Regions from separate parts of the Homo sapiens genome. Here regions 1, 3, 4 and 5 are each linked to region 2. The links are contacts of gene promoters, found by promoter capture Hi-C in blood cells and fetal thymus (Javierre and others, 2016). All regions are on one chromosome and are shown on one strand. The core of a region is centred on a gene start or on the middle of the fragment in contact, and the rest is flanking DNA. Distances in the headings are between cores, read along the strand shown.

Region 1 (4,753 bases), core at 1,817-4,316, 1.5 Mb after region 2:
GAAAGCAAAACTTTCCTGGGCAAGGACAAATTCTGTGGTTGAGAGTTTTCTTGCTCTAAGGCACACAGAACTGTATTTTTAAATATTTTACCCTGAAGGAGAAATAAAGTGATAAGCATAGAAAATTCAAGTCTACGGAAAATGGAAGCGGGGAAAAGTTTTACAAATAAAATGTTACCAATTACAAAGTGTGAAGTGGTTATGAAAAAAACACCAAGGATTTTAGACACTTTCTAAGTTATCACTCAAATGTAAATATCAAGTTGCCTCAAAATCTCTTAGCTAGTGGAAGCAACTTAAACTAAAAATTTCAGACTTTATTGAGAAATGCCAAGCAATGGGGCTTGAAACAAATTGGTTAACCACACTGAGGACTAAGCTCTGATTTTTTAATCTTGCCCAAATTCCCACCTAAGGGGTCTGGGGAGTCATGCCCTACAAACCATAAATTCTCATCAGATGGGTTTTATTTAACCCTGTATATTGTGACTTACTTTTCAATCTGACTCTGGCATAACATTCTAAGACAAGAAGAAAATATTTAATTCCTAAATACATTTCCTTGCCATACCCTGAAATTGCCCTGCGAAGTTTCTTGTGGGAAAAATCCACATTCTACAGAGCCTCCCCTTCCCGCTTTGTTTTCCTTCCTTTCTTTCCAGATCCAGGAGATAATCAACTAAGAGCCAAGCACCCTTCTAGGTCTGATAAGAAACATTTTACAACCTGCTCTCTCTGAAGTCTGCTGAGAGATTCCTCTGCACAAAAAAACTTGGTCTCCACAATCCTTTATCTTTAACCTGAACATTCCTTTCTATGGATCCCAGGTCTTTAGACAAACTCAACCAAATGTCAACCAGAAAGTTTAAATTTACCTATACCCTGGAAGCACCCCCGCTTTAAGTTGTCCCTCCTTTCTGAACCAAACCAATGTATTTCTTAAATGTATTTGATTGATGTTTCATGCCTTCCTAAAATATGTAAAACCAAGTTGTACCCCAGCCACCTTGGGCACATGTTCTCAGGACCTGAGGGCTGTGTCACAGGCCATGGTCACTCATATTTGGCTCAGAATAAATCTCTTAAAATATTTTACAGAGTTTGACTGTTCGCATCAACAACACCTATATTCTCATGACAGGATGTATTTATGTTTGTAATCTCCATTCATAATCATAACCCTCCCATACTCAACCATTATTCTTTCTGTTTCACCTCCCCTTTCACTACCCTTAGACCGAAGTTCAGTGGTCAAAGTCTATGAGAAAAATAGGAAATATACCAAAATATATCATTCAAAATGAATTCTGAAGCTTTCTTTACTTTTTTAAAGGCAAATTTTTAAAAACATAGTAACTGGATTAGCAATTAAGACAAATATTTTCAAACAGGATGGTATTCTTCACTGGATTATTTAAAGTAGGTAAGTAGATATTTAGCTGCATTCTCAGAAATAAAAACAGTTATTAGTTTCTTGGCATATGGACCATTAAATTTACATTTATATGTAGACTTTTCTGGCCAAGAAATGGGATCCAAGTGTATAGACATATATGCATATGTTAAGAGCATTTGGTAAGAGGTAGTTCTGTAGCAATTCAATGGCTATTTACTGAATTCCTATTAGTGATCACCCCATTGTTAGCGATTTCAGAGAGAAAGCATCTTTAAAAGTTTTCAGTTTTGTCAGAGAAACAAAATATGCACACATAAAGCAAAAATAACTCAAATATCTAATTGAAAATAGAGCAAAGTATCTCCTTTTATTGAGCTCTACTAGAGAGTTCCATTAAATTTAATGTATAATCTTAACTTCATAAAAGGATATCTTTTTTTTTTCCACCAGTAAACCTTTATCATGTAGTCTAAGGATTTTCTTTAGGTATAAATGAATCCAATAACATTAAATCAGTGCATGGAATTATGATGCTTTATTGCCCTTCTTTCTAATTTTTAAAATTCTAAGCAGAAGCACAACCAAAATCAAGCAACATACCAGCTCTGCTAGGGAGTAAAGTAAATATCAAATGTATATACTCACATACATATATATAAAACCAGAATTATCCTACATATGTGTAACCAGAATTTTTATGGTTATGAAACAGTGCAATACTAGTGTTTCACAGCTATATATTACTTCTATAACAAATGACTTTTGTTCACTGAGTTGAAATTTATGTTACATTGCATTTGGCCAGAAAGAAAAGAAACACAGATGTGATGAATGAAGAAAAATACCAGTTGAGTCACCTAACCAGTACTGAAAAAGTTAAGTTTCAAAATACGGGTATGTTCTATTTCTTAACCTAGATAATGCATCCACAGTTATTTCTTTTGTTGTTGTTCTTTAAATTCATCTTATACATTTTACTCTCTAGGTATGTGTGCTACATTTACTTCTCAGGAAACTTTTTCTTTTTAAATAGAAGAGTATCATTCCAAATATTGACAGATGTCCTGTTCAGGAATTCCTTCCAATCTCCTAAACTGCCAGTTGCAAAACTAGTTTCTTCAGACCTCTACTTTACATATTGCATCAGTAGCCACTAACAATAATTACAGCCTATAGATATCTGAAATTTCTTTGTTGACAAGTCTGGCAGCTAAGCAAAGGTCCTTATTAAAGGTAATGATATTTCTTAAAAAATCATGCACAACCAGAAAACATAACAGAAAGGTACATACGAGATAAGCTGTAGCATTTTAGGGGTGATCAGGACAGGGACTGCATCTTACAGCTCTTAACGCAGAATTTTACATTAAATTTTTGTGGAACTAAATGACACATAATGTGGTTATTACTATATAGGTATTATGGTACCTAGTCATCATTTTCTAAACTAAAGATAATATCTATATTTACAAAATAAGAAAAAAAGAACTATTTCAGGCCAGGTACGGTGGCTTATGCCTGTAATCCCAGCACTCTAGGAGACCAAAGTGGGCAGATCGCCTGAGGTCAGGAGTTTGAGACCAGCCTGGCCAACATGGCGAAACCCCATCTCTACTAAAAATACAAAAATCAGCCAGGTGTAGTGGCACACACCTCTAATCCTAGTTACTCAGGAGGCTGAGGCAGGAGAATAACTTGAACCCAGGAAACGGAAATTGCAGTGAGCCAAGATCACACCACTGCACTCCAGCCATGGTGACAGAGCGAGAGACTCTGTCTCAAAAAAAAAAAAAAAGAAAGAAAGAAAAAGAAAAAAGAACTATTTCACTGTTGGGGTTTTTAAAAAATGCAAACCCAGGGGGTGTGGCTACAAGTGAGGGTATCATAGTCAGCCAAATAAATAAATAATCTTTCACTGGCCTCTGGTCAGCTTGCCAAAGAGCCACACCTTCTCCATCACTCCTAGCTGAGGAATCTCTGCTCCTCTTCAGAAAGGGAAGGCAAGAGCTCCTTGTCTGGTTTTATTCATATTTACAAAATGGGTTTATATGCAACATAATCTCTATTGGATCACTAATAAAAATATTGACACTTTTTAAGAAATGAGGTTAATAGACAATACAAAGTCATTCTACATATCTACATATAATACATATCGTATAAGGGTCTAGTTAGTAGTATTCTTCCTACTTTAACTATTTGAACAGATTTTCTCACAAGACTGTTAGGTGTGAGTTAAGGATAACCTGATGCATTTTCTATAACTTTCTCAGAATGAGAGGCAATTTACCCAGTAGGTATTGAGATAAGACTTGACTCACTGTGTCCTTCCCTTCTTCATTCTATTTACTGAGGATGAAGGGAACTTGCTTTCTCCCTCTCTCCCTTTCTCCCTCCTCTCTCCTCTCTGCAACCTAGGGCTGCCTTCAATTTGGGAAGTGTCCCATTCTAAGAAGGCCAAATAGCCTAGAGCTCAGGGTTCCTTAGGAATGCTTCTAGTCTAGGGAAAATAAGCTGTCAAGGTCATGTACCAGTTCAGCTAATAAACCTGGGAGGCCTACATATTCAGAGCCAAACATAGCATGCCTAGGGTCTTGCTTTTGCCTAGAATATGCCGTTAATCAGGTATGAAGATACAACCCAATGAAGCAGATACATGTGGGGCAGAGGCCCCAATTTCCACCTTGATAACTTTAGAATAAAAGTGCTAAAGAAACTTGGTAAGGACTTAGATAGTTGCTTTAAAAGTTTTTTTTTTTTTTGCCTGTCTGCCATAATCCTCTGTTTAGAGGAAGAAACAAGGAGTTAATCTAGAAAATAAGGAGGAGGGACTTATAAAAGCATTAGCATTTTGTGGGAAAGTAGAATCAGTAAACAACATATCTTCTGCTCTCATTGTAAAGGGTCTGTCTGCTCTGTCTTGATACATTACCCCTCTCTCCAACATCAACACTACAGCAATTAGTATGAACGCCATCAGATCTATATCCTTTTATCCTCAAATCTTTAAAACATTAAATATTTAAGTAATAGTAGTATTTTGCCTCATTAGACATCTTTGATCCATCACTGAAATGCCAATTTTTCCAAGAAAATCTTGTAATACTTCATGTATCCTTTCTCTATTAATTCCATATTTTCTATCTTCTCTCATTCTATTCCCTCCCACTACTGTCTCTCCTTTTCTCTCCTCCTCTTATATTCCTTGTCTGTGCCAGAAAAACCTGAGAACACTGCTTAAGCCTGCTAGATTCACTGACCCCAAGTTTAGAAATCCAATTCTAAAAATTTTATAATAGCCTATTATGTACACTTTCGTCCCAGTTCTAAATTCAGAGACTATCTTAGACAAAAGCT
Region 2 (5,016 bases), core at 800-3,299:
TGTGTGTATTTAGTTCCATGCAGTTATATCACATGTAGATTTCTGTGGTCACCATCAGTCAAGATACAGAACAGTTGCATTAAAAGGATCCCACATGCTACCTTTTTGTATCCCTACTCACTCCTTCCATCTGCCTGCCTCCTCTGACAACCACTATAATTTGTCATTTCAAGAATACTAGGTGAATGGAATCATATAGTATGTAACCTTTGGCATTTAGCTTTTTCTTCCCTTCAGCATTACTCCCTTGACATCCCTCAAAGCTGTTGCATGTATCGATAGTTTGTTCCTTTTTATTGCACAGTAGCATTCCATAGTATGGATGAATCACAGCTTTTTAGTCATTTACCCATTGAAGGGCATTTAGGTTGTTTCCAGTTTGGGCTATTTATGAACAAAGATGCTAGATGCTACAATCATTTATGTACAAGTTTTTGTATGAGCATGAGTTTTCATTTCCCTGAGATAATTGTCTGAGAGTGCAATTGCTGGGTCAAAAGATAAGTGTATTTTTAGTTTTATAAAAAAGTGCAATACTCTTTTCTGGAATGGTTGTAACATTTGACATTCCCATCAGCAAAGTCTGAGTAATCCAGTTTGTCTGCATTGTCATTTGGTGGTGTCAATATTTTTTATTTTTATCTTAGCTATTCTGATAAGTATGTAGTGATATCTCATTATGGTTTTAATTTGTATTTCCTTAATGGTTAGTGAAGTTTAACATTTTCATGTGCTTATTATTAGCCATAGTGTATCTTCTTTAGTGGCATCTCCTTTCCTATCTTTTGCCCATTTTCTAATTGAATTGTTTAGGTTTTTACTGTTGAATTGTACACATTCTAGTCTTTTGTTGGATATGTGATTTGCAAATATTTTCTCCCGGACTGTAGTTTGTCTTTTCATCCAGTTAACAGAGTTGCAGAGCAAAAGGTTTTAATTTTGATGTGGTTCAATTTATCAGTTTCTCCTTTTATGAATTGTGCTTTTGGTCTGAATTCTAAGATCTCTTTGCCTAGCTGTATGTTCTGAAGATTCTCTCCTGTTTTTCTTTTCTGAAAATTTTATAGCATTATGTTTTATATTTAAGTCTGTGATCCATTTTGAATTTATTTGTGGATAAGATATGAGTTTAGGTCAAAATGGTGGTCATGCTTCTCCTCCCCTTCCTCCCCGTCTCCCTTCCTCACCTCCTCCCTTTCTTCCTGCTCCTCTTCCTGCTCCTCTTCCTCCTCTTCTTCCTCCTCCCCCTTCCCGCTTCTCCCCCTTCCTTCTTTCTCCCACCTCCTCCTTCCTCCTCCTCCTTACTTTCTTCTTCTTTCTTTTCTTTCTTCTTCACTTGCCCTACATAGTGATTTTAAGAGCTATAGTGCCTTCTCAGCCTGAATCCAAAGTGATTCCTGTAGTAAAGGTAACTGCCGGTTCATGAACAACCTGCTCAATGTTAACCTCTTCTTGTTCCTAAAATGTAGAGTCAGGGGAGCCCCTGAAACTGAGAATACAAACCAAAACTGTTCTGGAAGAGCAGCACAGTTTTTTCAACTCAGAAATGTAAAATTGTCTTGCTTATCATGACCTCTTCTGAAAAGTATTCTAAAAATGAAACAAAAAACGTATCCTAAAATGCTGAAATGTGATCTTGGGAGCATAGGGACAGTGGCACAAGGATGAAATCAGTGATGCTCTTAAGACAGTAAGACAACATGATTTGTAACTAGGAAATGAGAGAGATGGAGAGAGGAGAATGGAGAGAAGAGGGGGTAGGAGCAGGGAGAGAGAGAAAGAGACAGAGAGAGAAACACTGACTGACAAACCTGTAGTTTAGCTCTTACAATGCAGTGGAAGCCAGAAATGGTCAAGCTATTAAAAGCAAAAGGCAAACCAAAGAGAAAAGAACCCCCTTCAGCCTATAATCAGAAAAGAGCCATCCAAAGTTATACATCTTTTCAAATGCCTTCTGACTTAACTGTGGAATTACCATGTGGAACTAGCAACAGAACTTACTTGAAAGCTGGTTTCTGACAATGTAGAGCAGAGTTCTCTGGAGCAGCGTACTTAAGGGCAGTCCAAGCAAGATCTCTGGAGAGAAGGATAAAATGTCAGGCCAAGGGTGAGGCCAAACTGATGCAATCTCAGTTTTCTCTAAACTAAATTATACCACCTTACATAAATCTCAACTGGTGTTCTGAGGAAGTCAAAAGGAAGATTTACCCTGATGCTGTGCCTGCTGCCACAATTACATATCTGAAACCCTAAAAACTGCTTTTTAGCCTGCTTCCCCCTTCCACCTAGGAAAAACTAGGAACACCTAGTTTTTCCTCCTGAGTAGTTAAATAGCCAATGTTTTCTTTGTGTGCTATCTTATCATGTGGTTTCATAATCGTTGTGTGACTGTGTTTGATAAATAGTCCTTTGCCAAACCTGTTTTGTTGACGTTTCGCTCTTTAACATCAAAATAGAGTTTAAAATACCCTATTTTAATAATTTTGGATTGAAATTAGTGATTTGAGGGTCACCCAGTCTTTCCTTTCTTATAATTTATCTTGAAATATGCCTGTGTAACTCTAAATAGAGGGGTGGATTAATACTGCTACTAGATAGAGTAATTCTGGATAAGACCTGATGAATTTTTTGGATTTTCTGACCCTGGTCCAACTGGTTTTCAGGTGCTTCAGGATAGTTTTATAACAGTTGTTAAATCTAGATTGAATGATTTGTGAAACTTTTTCACAAATGGTTTTGCAAATAATTTATATATGCAAAATTAGTATATGTCTATATTAATTTCTTGATCCCTGACAGGTCTTGAAAACCAAATGAAAAACTGAATTACTAAAGCAAATTATACTTTCTGTACTATTTGTACTGTGTACAATTTATGCTATCCTCTGGGGTGACTATCATGTGTCATTTGTTACACCCCTGCTGACTCTTCCTTCCCCTTGTAGTTAGAATGCAAAATTTTCTTTAGTATTGCCATACAGGGCTGTCTTCTTACACACTTGCTTGACATTATTTGGCTTTTGTGATTTCCGAGTAGGTCCTTGTATGCCATTGGTTGAAGATTCTTTGAAAGCATTTTTTCAGGATCAAGCGTTGATTGAAGATATCCAAAATACATCTGTAGTTGAACCAAATGGTGTTTTGTGGGAGGTTTACTTTTCCCCTCTGATAAGGTGTGAGAGCCTGGGAGTAAACAGTGAGTAATATAGACGAAGACACAGACTGGGTGTTCATGTAGGTCCCTTGTTGGCTCCCACCTCCCCTATTCCCTGGTTGTCATGAAAAGCAGAACTGCTGCTCCCACCTCCGCTTTCCTCTTAACCCAGCCTTTCAGAGCAGCAGTAGGAGCCAGCACCACCTCTGTCATCATTCTCAGTGACAAAGGATGCAAAGTGTAGAACATTTCTTAGCTCCCATCTCCAGCCTCTGCCCTGGCAATTCTTCACCCTTGAACCTCTGACCCACAAGCAGAACACCTAGTGTTTGCAGTTCACTCCAGTGTATAACCTCTGGCAAGTCTTCTAAGCTTCCTTTACCTTACATTTCTTCAGTTGTTAAATGTTGCTAAAAATAACCAACTAACAAGATGCTTTTGAAGAAGGAGACATCCCAACCAGCCAGAACTGGAGAGAAGCTCAAATGGGACCCAGCAAGGAGGGCCAGAGCTGAACAGCTGGTCCCCTTATTCTCTTTTCCATGGCAGAGGAGATTTGAACCCACTGTATAGCTTTCTCTGTTGTGTGAATAGTACACTTTGTAGCTTTCGTGTTCAAGTAAAATGAAACCAAGATGGCTATGAAGATTGAGGGTAATATACGAACAGTACCTGATACAGTGAGTACTCACACATTCCTTTAATAACAAATCATTCCTGATCTTACTTCTGTGTCTACCTACATCTTCACCTAATTTTCATCTTGACCTCCCACTTTCAGCCCATGAGCTGCTCCTGTTGTTCAGATCAGGGAAGAAGGAACACTTAACGACAATCCAAATTGGAACCATATCATTTCCCAAAGATACTTTGCTATAAGCACAGTTAGTTAGGTTCTGGGATATAATGAAGTGGAGTTATATAGTCAAAGGGCCTTGAGAAACCTAACAGTCTTTTATTTAACAGTTGGACCCTAAGCCCATGAGGTGAAAGGGTCCATGATAGGCTGGCTCTATCCCAGGGTACTTTTAGATATATTAATTGGTAATCAGAGCCTCACCACTTGAGTGGCTTGATGAACCGTCATGTCAAGCGGCGTGCCAGTGATACTGGCCCCCTTGGTCCTCAGAGTGGCCAGGCAGGGATTGGGTTTGTCAGAGACCTGGGCTGGTCATCTTTAGCTATGATCAGCATCTTACCCCAGGGATGAGTAGAAGTATTATCATCTTTCTGCATGCCTTGATATGAAAAAGGCTTTTGTAAAAAGTGATCCAGATTATCTTCATACCAAACATCTGATTTAAAAAAAGTTCATCCCTAAATATAATTTGACTGCTATGATAATTTATACTCAAAGGGGTTGAATAACTTCACTGAGATAAGATAGGCGTGTCAGGATTTGAACTCAGGTCTTCCCTTCTCCATCCAGAGCTTATGCTCTGCAGTGCTGCCATGTGCCCCTTTAGTTGCAAAACGGGGCTTATAGAACACAGGTCACCTGACCTGCTGCTACTCACAGTGTGGGTTGCATAGATTTCTGTGGGCAGTCTTGACAGCTGAACATTAATTTACACCAGTGTAAATTAATTTGGAGAAATGCATCATAGGTTCTAAAGGTCTAACTTATAAGCGACCTTTTCAAAAATAATTTGTTTATAACTTGACAACATCCCATAATCCATGTCTTATCAACTTATTCATCTATAATATGGTTAATGTCAGAGTATTAACCTACCAAGACAATAGGAAGCAGGCAGTCTGTAATACTTCACCTGTGTAAGTCAGGGTGTTGCATTACAGTGATCCACTTTACTCCCTAAGGTTGCATGTTGTCTGAAAAGAGCAGTTGCCCATGATAGAAA
Region 3 (4,930 bases), core at 1,679-4,178, 1.5 Mb after region 2:
TTAACAATAATTAATTTATTATTAAAAGTATGACCATATTATTTTTATTCAGTATTGAAAATTTGATAATTGAAAAATGATACTAATAAGCATTTGTCTTTAAAAATATATATTTTATTTAATCCTGTCCATTTATCTATCTGTATACATTTTTTAAAATCTTAATAGGTCAGATAGTCTAGGTGCTGGTCATCAAGGAACTTACTGTGATCCAGTAAATGAGACATGTATGTAATTAACAAACAGTGGAATAGATGCCATATTAAGGTAACAATCAGATGCTATTGAAACTGAACAGAGGAAGAGATTAATTTCATCTGAAGGGTTCAGAATGAACAGAATAAGTTTCACCTTGCCTTCAAAGAATGAGTAGAATTTTAACAGTCAAAGAAAATTAGGAAATATTTTTCAAGCCAAGGGAATGAGGAGGGAAACAGCTGCCTAATCATCAACACATTTTAGAGGAGTCAGGGAACAGTAATATGTGGGAAGGCAGGGTAGGAGAAAGAGACTTCAAAATAAGTGCAGGGAGTGAACATTTATTTAGTACTTACTATATTACCAGATTTTACATTTATTTAACATACAATCAATCTTAATTGATTTTGATACTTAGGGACAGAGTATATTGATCAGTCTTGGAGGAGTTAGGGGACAGTACTTACTAGATGTTGAGGGGTTAGCTTTGTAAACAAGTAGCAGTACCCCATATTGAGCCAGGAGGAATAATGATAAGACAGTAAAGGTAAAGATAGATTTTCAGGATTTATTTTTGACTTACCTAATTTCTCAGTGATACAGGTGTTAGTATATCGATAAACTAGGAGGGAGAAGTTTTATGATAGTCTCTGGGGAATAGGGAAAGAAAGATGTCTTGGCCGAGTAAAAGTTTACTGGGATTGATGGTGTTTAGGAAATCAAAATAGCTATTAAGTGTGTGGGGTTCACAACTTTTGCACCACACAAAAGTGAATTGTATGGTGAAATTTTTGTCACTTAGAGTAACTTGCTTGATTATTCTTTTTTGCGAATGTCTCCCTTGTTGGCTTTTGTGGTGGTGGTCTATCTTTATTTCCTGTTCTTCTCTGACCATTCCTTACACCCCTTCCTGGCTATTTTACCTCACAGATATTGGAGTAATTCAAGATTCTGTGGTTGGCCCTTTTGACTGCTCTCTCTACAGGTTTAATTTGGGCATTTACTCATTTTCATGGCTCCAAGGACCATGTATGTGTTGGTGAGTCACCAGACTTTTTTCAGCTCAGATTTATTCTTGGAGTATCAAACTAGTAAATTCAGCTGTCATCTACCTATCTCCACCTGGAGACCTTAATAAAGTCATTATGTCTGAGACAGAACTCTCCTCAAATTCTGAATTTTGGTGAATGTGTCACCATCCATCAGTAATCAAATGCTTTCATTTCTTTTTCCTTAGCATTCTTCTATTCTATTGTTGGAAACTTACATCAGCAACCTCCCTCTAATTATCTTATACTTGCATTACTACCTGGATATTCTAGTTTCCCTTTCGCCATACCTCCTCCTGCATTACCAAACTTTCCTCCAACCTGCTGTTCAAATGGTCTGGAAGCTACTAAACTGGCTGTTATTTCCTGACGTAAAACCTTTCAGTGAACTCCTCTTGTCTCATTAGTGGTTCATATGTGGACCAGCTTCATAGAAATCCTTAAGCCCCTTGAAATTATATGTAGGATTGTTCCCTTTTTGTGTGTCTGTAATTGGATTCTAAATTCAGACTTTAAAAATCTGATTTTTAATATTTGGAGTTTTTATTGCAAGCTAAAAATTTCTTGAATACTACACATACTAAAGATCTTTTTTGCTTATAATAATTTTGCCTTTCATTTGACTAGTTGTCCAAGAAGTTTCAAGGAAATCTGAGTTCTTGGAGATTTCCACTAACTCTGCCCATACCCCTCTATATTTTGTCTTCTTGAGAAGAAGACTTAGTATTAATAGACTCTTATTAGTCTGGCAGAAATATTTCACATGGTTTATCTATTGGAAGAAGGGGATTTATACTTAAAAGTTGGAATATCACATGAAGAATTCAGTAAAAACGTCTTTGAAAGTAAATGATGTATTATACTTATTAATAGAATTGGACTAACGTCACTCCAAATTTCTGTGTATTAAATTCTTAGTTTAGTAAACTGGAAATAAATTCCCTTTTTCAAAATTAGAATTTTCTGAGACATTTATGAGATAGGGAATACCTCTTTTGATTAGCATTAATACTTGCTCTACACAAAGGGAGGGGAAAAGCTTTCTTATTTACATATTGGTATGATCATCTGCATACATTTAGTCTCCCACCTATTTTAAGATCATTGGAACTGCAAAACAGAGACTGTGTAGGGTAGATTAAAATGGTTTTTTAAAAAGCCTTGAAGTATGTCTTATAGGTAGACTAGCAGTTTGGGGTTACTTTGTGTCTATCTTGTTACACATTTTATCTCTATCTTACTTATTGCATGTGCCTCATTCAGAATTAAATAAGAAATATCACTAAGTTTTTCTGCCCATTTGTTAGTTGGTGATAGACTAACAGTATACTTGATGGGCTAAACAGAATCAGAATTTATAAATTGCTATGGCAAATTGATAGTTAAGAGTGCTTCAGATGAAATAATGACCATTTAGCTGTCTGGTGTCCATTGTTTGCAGATTAACTTTGTCCAACTTCACTTCATTCTGATGATGGAACCAAAATACCTGCACAAACAGGATTGTTTTGCCTTTCCAATTATGTTATTATAATTCATGCCTTCTCCTGGGATGATTGTAATTGCTTTCTTAGTTTTGAAATTATGTGTTTTGGTTTATTCATAAATGCAAGAGTAAGAGTCATGCAAAATATTAATCATATTAAGTAGGGTGGAGGATAATGTTTTTAGGTTGGAAACTTTTTTTTCTGTAGATAAACGAGCTGTATGTGATGGAAAACTGACTTCTTGGGCCCATTTTACTTAAAGCAAATACAATAGGTTTGGAATTATGTATTTAAAAGCATGGCATTGGTCCACGTGACATGTTGGGTGTCTTGTTTTCATTTTACCAGACTCTGTTTTTATTTATGTTTTCAGTTTATGATCCTGTCCTTTGTTCATAAGGTACTTAGATGGTTTAAGATGTAGACTTCTTATATGAAGATGTTGCTGTTGTTTTTCCAAAGTAATGGTGGTCATCAGCCCATTTTTCTATTTAGTCTCATGAATAGAATCATGAGTAGAATCTTTCTTAAATTATTACTTGTAAATGGATCACTTTCTTGTTTTCTTTTTCTTAATTGGAGCTTTAAATAAATATGGAACTTGGAACAAAAAGATTTTCAGGAATTTTATGGAAACTAACTTTTTTGACCTAAATCGAAAGGGATGAAAGTTTCTGAAAACCTAACAAAATGTGTGCACAGCCAATTCTTTTAGGGGAGGAAATAGGCAGGGAATGTGTAATTGGCTATTTTAAAAACATATGCCTTCTTTTGTAACTTATTGTTGTTTCAAGTTACAAGATCTTTGAAGGCAAGTGTTTATCTCAAAATATTTGAAAGCTTTTATAGTGCTTAACATACTAAGACGTCCTATTAGGGTTTACTTAGAACAAGCTTATCCAACTTGTGGGCCACATGTGGCCCAGGATGGCTTTGAAAGCGGCCTAACACAAATTCATAAGCTTTCTTAAAACATTATGTGATTTTTTTTTTTAGCTTATCAGCTATCATTAGTGTTAATGCATTTTATGTGTGGCCCAAGACAATTCTTTTTCTTCCAGTGTGGCCCAGGGAAACCAAAAGATTAGACACCCCTGACTTAGAACTTTCCATAGGTTAGGAGAAAGTTGTACTTTCTTGATGTCTATAACCTAGAATTTCTGGTAAAGGAATTGATTGGAAATGTTATTAAAAGTTGAAAATAATTTGGAAATTAAACATTTTAGTGATCAGTTCTTCCATTGAGACTGTGTTGGTTCCTTTACTAGATATGTGCCATCTTTTTAAAAACTTACTGTGTTGCTTCCTTTACTAGAAAATTGCCATCTTTTTGAGCCTTGTCTATTGAGGAACCAAGAACACAGAAAAGGCAGTAAAAAGAAAAAAAAGGATTGTTTGAAGATTGAATGTGCTGTGATGATAGCCTAGGATTATTGTTTTTCAATTTTTGATGAGCGTAAGCATTCTTGTTGACTATATCTTTTGTAACTACTGACCCATTTAGAATGGCAGAATTAGCTGGCAGAGAGATTGTCATTCATTTTAAGCTTTCAATCTCTGACATCTTCATCTTTATTTCTCAGTCTTTTTTACTTATCAGTGGTTTACTCCATTATTTTCTCCCCTTTTAAAATGTCTTTTTTTTTTTTTTTTTACCATGGGGAAAAAAATTAGATGTTTCCTTGGCAGGGCACAATAACACAATAAGGCTTTCATGACTTAACTTTTGATTACCTTTACACCTTCATCTCCTGCTCTTCCATTGCTTGTATGACTATTTGACTCAGTGTCTTGCATGTGCTTCTGCCTGGAATCTGCTCCACTGCCCAGCCCCTCTGAATGAACACTAAACTTTCTAACCTATGTCCATCCTCTCATCTCTCTCTTACTGTTATTTTAGTAAGTATGTTAACACATTTTGATTACGCAGGAATCAGGCCATATTGTAATTATCTGCATGTATGTTTCCTTATTTAACAGAGTAGTTGTGTGTCTTATTTATCTTTAGACCCATCAGTACTTAGTATTGTATCTGGAACATGGCAGGTGTTTAGTAAATGTTTATCTGAATCAATAAGGCAGAAATTATAAATTTTATGTCAGTGTTTAAGCTAGATACATCCAATTTGACAAATCTTTTTTCTTCTTCCTCTTCAGGGGATCTTCAATATTCATGTTATTTTCTCCTTTGGTCTT
Region 4 (4,982 bases), core at 640-3,139, 1.5 Mb after region 2:
AGATGGCTTTGCTTTCTCCCACCCAAGGACTAATCAGACCCAACACTGATTAACTTCTGAGATCGGCAAGATTGGGTGCATTCAGGGTGGTATGGCTGGAGACAACAGCTTTGCTTCCTAACTGATTTCTGTATTTAATTTCTTTTTCCTCTTAAATATAATCTTCCATCCTGCTACCTGATAAACCTTCCTGTAGGATGATGATGTCTTATAGAATAAAACCTAAATTTCTTGGCAAGGCCACTTGATCCCAAACTATCTTATCAACTTTATTGATTACCATACCCCTCCTCCAAGCATCCTAATTTCACCACACAAACTATTTGCCATCCCTCTAACACCTTACACTTATTGTGGCTCCTGTGTCTTTGCTTTTATCATTCCTACTAGTTGTAATAGGCTGTCCTTCTCTCTACCTATTTCAAGGAATGCCCAGATCATATAATATTTTTCCATCAAGATTTTCTAAATCTCACAATAACAATTTTCTCTTTTGTGTTTCAACAGTATTTTTATTTTTATGCCTTAATTATAGTACTTATAAATTGTGTTGTATGAATATGTGTTTAGATGCATTATCAGACACATCATCTCTACAAGATGGGGACTAGAGAACCTAAGAAGTTCTCAATAATTTTGCCAGAGATACAGAAATACAACTATCAAAGTACAGGTATTATACAAAGTGCTTGAACAAACTCAGAAGAGTGTCAAAGAAGAAATTATTCATTTCAATTGGGATGGGGGTAGTTAGACAGGCTTTAGAGAGGAGAAGGGAAGGTGGCATTTGCTAGGTCTAGACAGTAAGTCCCTTGATGGTGACAGTATGCCTTCCCCCTCCTCAGACGCTAGTAAAATGTTTTGCACATAGTGTTTGTTGAACTTAAAAAAATTAGATGAATTTTAGATGGAGAACTATGTTGATTTATAAAACAAATGCAGTCAAGAAAAAGTAAAAGCCAATGTGGAAGGAATTTCCTAATCCAAAGCTGTTATCAGGAAGATCAGTGTATCTCACGAAGTGATGAGAAAATTAACACAGGCACGAGGAGCTAAAAAGCTTTCAAAGTAAACTGGTTTATTCTCTGCTAAAAACCTTTCCAATAAAATCTGTTCTATTACCTATATCAAGTAATTTTAATATGCATATTTGCTCTTGCTACATTTAGATTACATAAAATTCCAATGAAGTATCTAGAATTGGTAGAAATAAAGGTGAAGCAAATTATTAGCCTGTGTACTATTATAATTTTCATTCAAAAGACAAAAGGCACGCTAAAAATGTCTATTAGAAGCAGTATGAAGTAAACGGTTAGGAGCACAGTTTCTAAAGCCAATCTGCCTACATTTGAATCTGGGCTCTAGCACTTTCTAATTAGTTTGACTTTGCCCAAGCTGCTTAACCTCTCTGTCCTACAGTCTCTTATCTGCAAATTGTGCTAACAGTAGTATATATTTTATTAAGGGAGCTAGTAATGATTAAGTTATGGCACAAAATAAGGTTAGAACAGTGTCTGACATACAGTAAGAGAATAAAAGTTATCTATCATTATTATTAATATTACTAACAATACTGGCAATAGATAATGAGTATGTTTTGGTTTTAAGTGTATCATAAAACAGAAGTTTAAGCAGTAATGGCCAACATGCCCTAGAGATGAGAAAGATTTCATTAAATTTGTCCTCCAAAGTTATTAAGCCCACAATGGTTAAATGCTCTGTCCTCTCACTGGGTTGAAGAAAGCAAATAAGCCAGTAAGAGATATCTGTGATAGAGTAAGCTGTGGGTGAGGAACCAGTAAAAAGCTAGACCTGCTCTAATGTATAAAAGCTGGAAGCTGAGAAGTACTAAAACAAGGTTTTCAAAGTTGCTGCAGACAGTGATATTTTCATGCTATCTGGATGATACCTGAGATCCAACCCTACTCCTCTAGCTCCTTCTCATAAAACAAGGATAAGAAGAACAATGCTCAACCAAAATGCCAAAAGGAATGATTAACATCATATGTACTCTAAGCCATGTTTAGAGTGGAAAAATGCCCAGCCTGTAGAAGTATCTTATTTAGAAACAAAAATAAGCCCTTTCTTAAGTGCTTGTTGTATGGATTTATTAATTTCCTCAAAATACATGGAAGAGCTTAGAGAAAATTAAAATAGTTTTTTTTTTGCTAGAGTATTGCTCTGTCTCCCAGGCTGAAGTGCAGTGGCGTGATCTTGGCTCACTGCAACCTCCACCTCCTGGGTTCAAGTGATTCTCCTGCCTCAGCCTTCTGAGTAGCTGGGATTACTGGCACCTGCCACCATGGCCAAGTAATTTTTGTATTTTTAGTAGAAACGGGTTTCACCATGTTGGCCAGGTTGGTCTCGAACTCCTGACCTCAGGTGATCTGCCCACCTCGGCCTCCCAAAGTGCTGGGATTACAGGTGTGAGCTACCGTGCTTGGCCGCTTGTCTGTAAATTAATCAGGGTATGGTACAATAGTAGTAGCAAACACAAGGAAGTCAGACAAGAACTTTGAGGTCACCATAGAAACATAAGCAACAGAGATCGAAGGAACAATAGATTGGGAGAAAAGTAACAAGGAAAGTTAAGGGACAAAGGAGGATATAGTCTTCAAGGTAGATTAAGAACAGAAAGGTTTCTAAATGCCAGACTTTTCCTTGAGGCATTATACTGATCCATTGAAGACTAAGCAGGTTTTTATTTCTCCATATTCTGAAGCTTATAACTGCACTTTGATTACTTATTCCCTCTGAAAAGAAACTTCTTATAGCCTACAGGACATCTGTGGCATCAAATCCAAGTCTTAATATTTAAATATATTTTTTTCTATTTTATTCCTTTGTCTTTCCAATACATAACTTTTCAGCAGGGTTAATGTTTGTGTTATCCTAGTGGATCTCCTGGCCTCTACCATCTGAACCAAGAATTAACTGCCTAATAGGGACAGTTGGAGCTCTTTTCCTGCACAATAACCAAAGCATACCAAGACGCGATCAACTTCTTATGGGATCAGTTACACTTAAAAGAAAAAAAAAGTGGAATAATAGATAAGAAATATAATAAAATATTGATAGGGTTGATGCTCTTATGGGTACATGAGGGTTTCACTGTATTAGTCTCTGCTTTTACCTGTATTTTGTAGTTTACATTAATAAAAAGCTTTTTAAAACTGAAAAAATACAGTAGTAAAAACATCAAAATAATTATATTTTTATGATAAAAAAGCCACTTAATCACTTCCAAGCATTTTATCACTATTAGAAGGGAATATAATCTAATTGCTAAAATTGTCATATATTTCAGTTATCTCATCATCCTCAGAAAGCAAATTCAGCAAGTAAGTAGATGCTAGTGATGCATCTGTAACAACAAAGAGTAAGTATTTGGATAAAGAAGAGCCTCACTAACAGACAAACTGTTTATAACTTAAAGCCATGATAAGTTTCAGAATGTTTCAGCCATGAGGGGTAGATGCATTTATATGTTGCAGCTGTAACTCATATATAATACATGTATAAGCCTCAAAAGTCCTGAGGCCATTTTAAGTTTCAGCTTTACACAGATTTATAGTTCCTTCTCAAGTATATAGGAATATAGTTTATAGGAAACATGGAAATATCGGGAACTTTACATAAACTATTTCTAGTTCTTGTTAATTTTAAAATCATAATGTGATAAACACATTCCATACTTTATATGTATTGTTACAATTCTTAAAATTATCCATATTCAAAGTGCTTACTTTTATGCTATATATTTCTTATACTATGACTTCAGAGATTTCATTAAAGGATAATAAAGAATTCATCTACCCTATAAAATGCTTTTTCAAATAGCTGGACGTCGGGCCAGGTGCAGTGGCTCACGCCTGTAATCCTAGCACTTTGGGAGGCTGAGGCAGGTAGATCACCTGAGGTCAGGAGTTCGAGACCAGCCTGGCCAAAACAGTGAAACCCCATCTCTACTAAAAATACAAAAACTAGCCAGGTGTGGTGGCGGGTGTCTGTAATCCCAGCTACTTGGGAGGCTGAGGCAGGAAAATTGCTTGAACCCAGGAGGTGGAGGTCACAGTGAGCCAAGATCACACCACTGTACTCCAGCCTGGGCAACAGAACCAGACTCCATCTCAAAATAAACAAACAAAAAAGTAGCTAGGCCTGGTGGTTCATGCCTGTAATCCTGGCACTTTGGGAAGCCGAGGAGGGCAGATCATTTGAGGTCAGGAGTTTGAGACCAGCCTGACCAACATGGTGAAACCCTGTCTCTACTAAAAATACAAAAATTAGCTGGGCATGGTGGCCCACGCCTGTAATCCCAGCTACTTAGGAGGCTGAAGCAGGAGAATCACTTGAACCCAGGAGGCGGAGGTTGCAGTGAGTCGAGATCGCTGCCACTGCACTCCAGCCTGGGTGACAGAGCAAGACTCTGTCTCAATAAAATAAAACGAGATCAATGTTTTAAATAAAATAAGATTCTGAGTTCTAGGCATACTCATTGTAAAGCAGATTCACCATTCCACATTTCCTTGATAAGACTGACAGATGTATACAGCAACAAGTGACGAACACTTGCAGTAATACTACTCCTCAGCTGTTAACCAAGATTTACTTCAGGCACTGAAAAGAGCAGATTACTTGGAGAATGTAGGTACTAGAAAGAATGAACTTTACTAAGTGATTCCTTATTTGAAGCTGGAATAAAAACTCTCTCCATGTTTTCCTGCATGACTTATGCCAGACCAATGATGTATATATACTATATATATATGTGTGTATATATATATATACAATGATGTATATATAAAACAATAAGCATGTTTCCACTTCCATCTCTAAATATATAGAAAAAGAATCGTGGTCACATGATCTAAAGAGACAGAAACAACCTTCTAACTAAAAGAAAATTAGAAAGTAAAATAACCACTCACTTTTTAGAGATGTTTTCCTAACCAGCTTATATCAAACCCACAACAGTCTAT
Region 5 (5,251 bases), core at 2,237-4,736, 1.5 Mb after region 2:
ATATTGTTCCTTACCCATGAAATTGGCAAATTCCAAAGCTTAATAGTAGGCTCTGTTGACAAGGCTAAGTGAAACAGACTAGAGGGAATGCAAGACTTGTCTATCTCTTATGGAAGAAAATTAGGCAATAATTAATAAATATTCATTAACTCATTAATATTTATTTAACTTTTGATTTAGCAATCCTATTTCTAGTGTTTATCCTTAAGATATGCCATTAGTATTACTAAAAAGTATAGATAAAGTTATTCACTACAACATTCTAACATATTCAAGACATAAAATAAGGCTGGAAACAAGGGAAAAAATTTAAACTGAATGCAAAAACTAAATCAAGGTATTTTCAAATGAAATCACATTGAGGGATAAGAAAAGGAAAAATCAGGCAGACAGCTAAGGCTAGTCCTTGGAGAAATAGCCTGAAAAATCACAGCTACAGGCACAAACAGAACAACCTGGGGAAAAACTAAACTGCAACTACACTAATAAGAAAGCAAGGCCCAACAGAGAAGCCTTTTTTCCTTTGTGTGATTAGCGGGCTTCCAGGAAAAAGGTTCCTCCCCTTTTCAGGCATATACATGGTAGGCTCTGTGGGAACCTGCAAAGGAATGGGGGTGGGCTTACCTGAAACAGACCTGCAGTTAAACAAACAAGAGAAGCTTCACTTTGTGCTTACCCAAGACATACCCACAGCTGCAGAGATAAGGAGAGTTACACAAATAGCTACAGAGATGAGGGGAGTTTCTTATAAAAGCTTTTGGATTCAACTGTAAAAACAGCAACCCACTCAGGCCCCCTCTCCACTACAAAGAGCTTTCTTCTTTCACTTATTAAACTTTGACTCCAACCTCCCCCTTGCGTCCATGCTCCTTAGTTTTCTTGATTGTGAGACAAGGAGCTCGGATAACACCTCAGACAACGAGACCATTCACCCCAGACCATTTCAACATCAAAGAAGGAGAAACAACAAAAACAACAGTGAACTAATGTAAGTAACTTTTGGACACAGTACAATACTTTATTTACCCTTAGTCTGGGTGAAAAAAATATATGATACACAAAGATAAAACACAATAGCAAAATGTTAAAAATTGTTGGACCTGAATGAATGGCACAGGGAAATTATTTGTATTACTGTCACGCCTTTCCTGCAAGTTTGTAATTATTTCAAAATTAAAAATTAAAAAATACAATTCCAGTTTCTCTCTCACACCAAATTCAATAGTAAAATATTAAATATTAGACATATAAAAATGTGTACATGCTTTTTTTTGCCAAAAGTTGATGCTAAAAGCCAAGCAGTCTGAGTTTGTCATTTTCTATTTTCTAAGGTAGTTTTGAGAGATTTTTCTCTATTTTCCCATGTTTTTAGAATAACTGGAATTAGAAAGTAGAATCAAGGAATGAGTGTTTTAAGTACTTCCTGAAGCACATTCTGGAATCTTGATCTTGAAACCAAGCTAACCATCCATACTACAGGTATAATTATGTTTAAAATAATGTCTATATCAGAGAATCCTTTATAAATAAGGTATACAGTCATGCACTGAATAACAACATTTTAGTCAGCAATGGACTGTATGACAATGATCCCATAAGATTATAATGGGGCTGAAAAATTTCTATAGCCTGGTGACATCATCGCCATTGTAATGTCATAGAACAATGCTTTACTCACATTTTTGTGGTGATGCTGTTAAAAACAAACTTACTGCACTGCTACCTGTACAGAAGTATAGCACATACAATTATGTATGTTACATAATACTTGATAATAATAAATGACCATGTTAATGGTTCGGGTATTTACTGTACTATATTTTTTTTTTTTTTGAGAAAGGGTCTCACTCTGTCCCGCAGGCTGGAGTGCAGTGGTGCCATAATGGCTCAATGCAGCCTTGACCTCCTGGCCTCAAGCGATCCTCCTGCCTCATCCTCCCTCAGGAATGGGACTACAGGCGTGTGCCACCATGCCTGGCTATTTTTTTTATTTTTTGTGTCTCACTATGTTGCCCAGGCTGGTCTCCAACTCCTGAGCTCAAGCAATCCTCCTGCCTTGGCCTTCCAAAATGCTGGGATTGCAGGCATAAGCCACCACAGCTGACCTATACTTTTTATGTTATTTTAGAGTGTTATTTTACTTTTATATGTAGAAAATTAAATGTAAAATAGCCTCAGGCAGGTCCTTCAGGAGGAATTCCAGAAGACAGCATTATTATCATAGGAGATCACAGCTCCATGCATGTTACTGCCCCTGAAGATGTTCCAGTGGGGTAAGATGTGGAGGGGTAGGACAATGATATATGTGGAGGGGTAGGACAATGATATGGATGATCCTGACTCTATGTAGGCCTAGGCTAATGTGTGTGTTTGTCTTAGCTTTTAATAAAAAAAAAAAAAAACTTTTAAAAAAGATGAATAAAATAAAAATAGAAAAAGCTTATAGAATAAGGATATAAAAAAAGAAAATACTTTCGTTCAGCTGTAAAATGTGTTTGTGTTTTACATGAAGTGCTATTACAAAAGAATAAAAAAGTTTTTTAAAATTAAAAAGCTTATATAGTACAAAAGTTACAGTTAATACTGTCTTCTGGAATTTCTTCTGAAGGACCTGCCTGAGGCTGTTTACATTTAATTTTTTATGTGTAAAAGTAAAAGGAGTACATTCTAAGTGTACAGTAATGTCCTAGGCCTTCACATTCACTTGCCACTCACTCACTCACTTACCCAGAGAGACTTTCAGTCCTGCAAGCTCGATTCACCATAAATACCCTATATGAGCATTCAATTTTTTATCTTTTATACAGTATTTTTACTGTACCTTTTCATTTAGATACACAAATACTTACCATTGTGTTACAACTGCCTATAGTATTCAATACAGTAACAGGCTTTACAGGTTTGTAGCCTAGGAGCAATAAGCTATACCATATAGCCGAGGTATGTAGTAAGCTGCACCCTAGATGGTATCATTAGGTTTGTTTAGCTACATACTATGATGTCTGCACAACAACAAAATCACGTAATGACACATTTGTCATAATGTGTTCCTATCATTAAGCAATACATGACTGTATGTGGGTACTATTACTGTTTTCTAAAAAGCATCTAAGCAAGCATTTAAAAAAATAAAAATACAGTTTACAAAATTAACTTAGAGTAACAAAGTTAGCACTTTTCACTGGCAATCAAACAGAAATATAAAAGTTAGCAACAAATCTGACAATTAAATTCCCTATGCCAAGCCCATACGTGGTAGGTAGATTGGCCCCGAAGAGATGACCTAATCTCTGGCAACTGTGCATGTGTTACCATACATGGCAAAAGAGACTGCAGATGTAACTAAAGTTAAATCCTTAAAATAGGAAAATTATCCTGGATTAACTGAGTGGACCCAATCTAATCATGAGAACACTTAAAAGCAGAGAAATGTTTCCAGCTGTAGTCAGAGAAATGCAGCATAAGGATAAATAAGAGAGATTCAAAGTATGAGAGGAACTTGACTCACCACTGCTGGAGGAGCCACATGGAAAGCATGAGAAAGAATTCAGAAAGCATCTAGGAGCAAAGACTCATCCCCCATCTGGCAGCAAGGAAACAGGGACTTCAGTCCTTCAAGTGCATGTAACCAAATTCTACCAGTTGGAACCTGGGTGAGCCTGGGAATGAATCCTCCCCTAGAGTCTTCAGAGCCCACTGCAACTGACACTTAGATTTTGGTCTCATGAGACAAGGTTTAGAAAAACCAGCTGAGCCCAGCTAGACTTCAGACCTATACATCTGTGAGATAATAACGTGTTGTTTTAAGCCACAGAATTTGTGGTAGTTTGTTATAGCAGCAATAGAAAACTACATGTATTAGCATTTTCTTAATTTATATTTCATTCTAAATATCTTTAATTTGTCAAGGTGGATTAAAAAATGAGAGGCTATATTACCACATTTCTAGCTTTTCATTTCCTCACATTAATTTTGTCACTAAAATGGAAACATAATGCTTGACTAGATTCTGACCATTGAAAAATACCAATTTTTAATTCATGTTAGTCTTTTACTTTTAAAAATGTTTTTTAAAAGCCATTTTCTCTTGGAATATTTTACATGAAAAGTATGACTCAAGTGAGGGTCTATCTATGCAAAGTAGAACTGAGTGTTTCCGACATACGTATACATTACATCTATTACCAGCTGGTGCTCACAGGGTTTTGCGGGAAGGGGACAGTGTTAGAATGCTACATGAGTTCATTTCTTTTATATATTCATATTAAGTGTATCTCCATCTGCTGAAGTACTTCCATTGGCATGGATGAAAATGTCAGTTGAGTGAATTCCAGGCAATTCTCCAAGGTAAGAAAGTTAAACAAGCGAAAAGGGCCAACACATATAAAGAAGGAACTTATCTTTTTAGCAAACGCTATGAAAGCTTTCGGTGTTTTTTTAGAACAAGCAGACATTCTTAGGAAATAATTAAAATAATCTGTCATAGAAAGTAACTGATGAGGTACTGATAAAATTAAGTGGAAAAAATCAGCTAGAGGAACTTGTACTGATTTATCACTTCCTGGAAACTGGGGCTAGTAATGTAGTTCATTCAGTATGCAATCCTCTCTATTAGCCTCTAACATTTAAGAACTATAGTTGCTTTTGGTATGCGGGTTTTAAAAGGGCTGAGTAGCCTAGGACAGTGCTTGTCAAATTTCTCTGGTCAAGGATCAATTTCTTCTTCATTTTTAAAGAAACTTTCTAATCGATTGCAGACCAATAATTTTGTAAAATATAACAAAAACATATTACTAGAAAAATGAAACAAAAAACCAAGACACAAGGTTTGTGAATGGCTGTGCCTAGCACATGTGGGTGCTGAAATATGTTTAATAAACAGACACCACTTTCAGAAAAGCTGGTTCAAAAATGGATAGGTTTTCATCAGAAGCTTCTCAACAAAAGCACCTGGTATATCCAGATACTGAGAGTAGGCAGTACCCTCAGACATCTTGTAACAAATAAAATTAAATATTTAATGAAGCTCTAGGATGCATTACATTTTCTTCAATTAGAGAATGACAGCTAGGCAATTTAGCAGTATTAAAGGATTAAATAATCTCTGATTATTTTTCCTGCTATTGTGCTTTTTTGTCCTAAACCCTAACTACACTTAAACATAGATGAGAAATCAATATGAAGAATAGTACAAAAGTCTAATAAAGGTGAACACCGGAATCTATGTTAGAGGGTTTTCACTTGTTCCAAA

Evidence for each region. Contacts are between HindIII fragments. The CHiCAGO score rates a contact against its expected background, and 5 or more counts as called.
Region 1: a fragment that was not itself captured here is called in contact with the fragment with the promoter of NCOA7-AS1 in region 2 in 4 of 17 cell types (M2 macrophages, M0 macrophages, M1 macrophages and 1 more); the score reaches 16.4 in M2 macrophages.
Region 3: a fragment that was not itself captured here is called in contact with the fragment with the promoter of NCOA7-AS1 in region 2 in 1 of 17 cell types (M1 macrophages); the score reaches 6.3 in M1 macrophages.
Region 4: a fragment that was not itself captured here is called in contact with the fragment with the promoter of NCOA7-AS1 in region 2 in 2 of 17 cell types (M0 macrophages and M1 macrophages); the score reaches 5.8 in M0 macrophages.
Region 5: a fragment that was not itself captured here is called in contact with the fragment with the promoter of NCOA7-AS1 in region 2 in 1 of 17 cell types (M0 macrophages); the score reaches 7.0 in M0 macrophages.

Annotation. Positions count from the first base shown.
Region 1 is chr6:127,336,599-127,341,351 of GRCh38, forward strand. The region is part of intron 1 of ECHDC1 (ethylmalonyl-CoA decarboxylase 1); the gene reads right to left. It overlaps LOC105377994 (a long non-coding RNA gene), which reads left to right. Exons shown (of 4, transcript XR_001744334.2): 3 at 2,202-2,271. Among named protein-coding and RNA genes, the nearest start is that of ECHDC1, 4.6 kb to the right of the region's middle. The HindIII fragment of the contact is 3,511 bases long and covers 1,312-4,753 here.
Region 2 is chr6:125,816,809-125,821,824 of GRCh38, forward strand. NCOA7-AS1 (NCOA7 antisense RNA 1) reads right to left here and starts at 2,050. Exons shown (of 3, transcript NR_126386.1): 1 at 2,002-2,050. All of the region lies in intron 2 of NCOA7 (nuclear receptor coactivator 7), which reads left to right. RefSeq lists an enhancer at 1,275-1,776. The HindIII fragment of the contact is 4,548 bases long and covers 1-3,524 here.
Region 3 is chr6:127,281,159-127,286,088 of GRCh38, forward strand. The region is part of intron 2 of RNF146 (ring finger protein 146); the gene reads left to right. Among named protein-coding and RNA genes, the nearest start is that of RNF146, 17 kb to the left of the region's middle. The HindIII fragment of the contact is 1,288 bases long and covers 2,285-3,572 here.
Region 4 is chr6:127,317,871-127,322,852 of GRCh38, forward strand. The region is part of intron 3 of ECHDC1 (ethylmalonyl-CoA decarboxylase 1); the gene reads right to left. It overlaps LOC105377994 (a long non-coding RNA gene), which reads left to right. Exons shown (of 4, transcript XR_001744334.2): 1 at 1-4,982. It also overlaps the pseudogene RNA5SP217. Among named protein-coding and RNA genes, the nearest start is that of ECHDC1, 23 kb to the right of the region's middle. The HindIII fragment of the contact is 1,662 bases long and covers 1,059-2,720 here.
Region 5 is chr6:127,297,061-127,302,311 of GRCh38, forward strand. All of the region lies in intron 5 of ECHDC1 (ethylmalonyl-CoA decarboxylase 1), which reads right to left. Among named protein-coding and RNA genes, the nearest start is that of RNF146, 33 kb to the left of the region's middle. The HindIII fragment of the contact is 1,869 bases long and covers 2,553-4,421 here.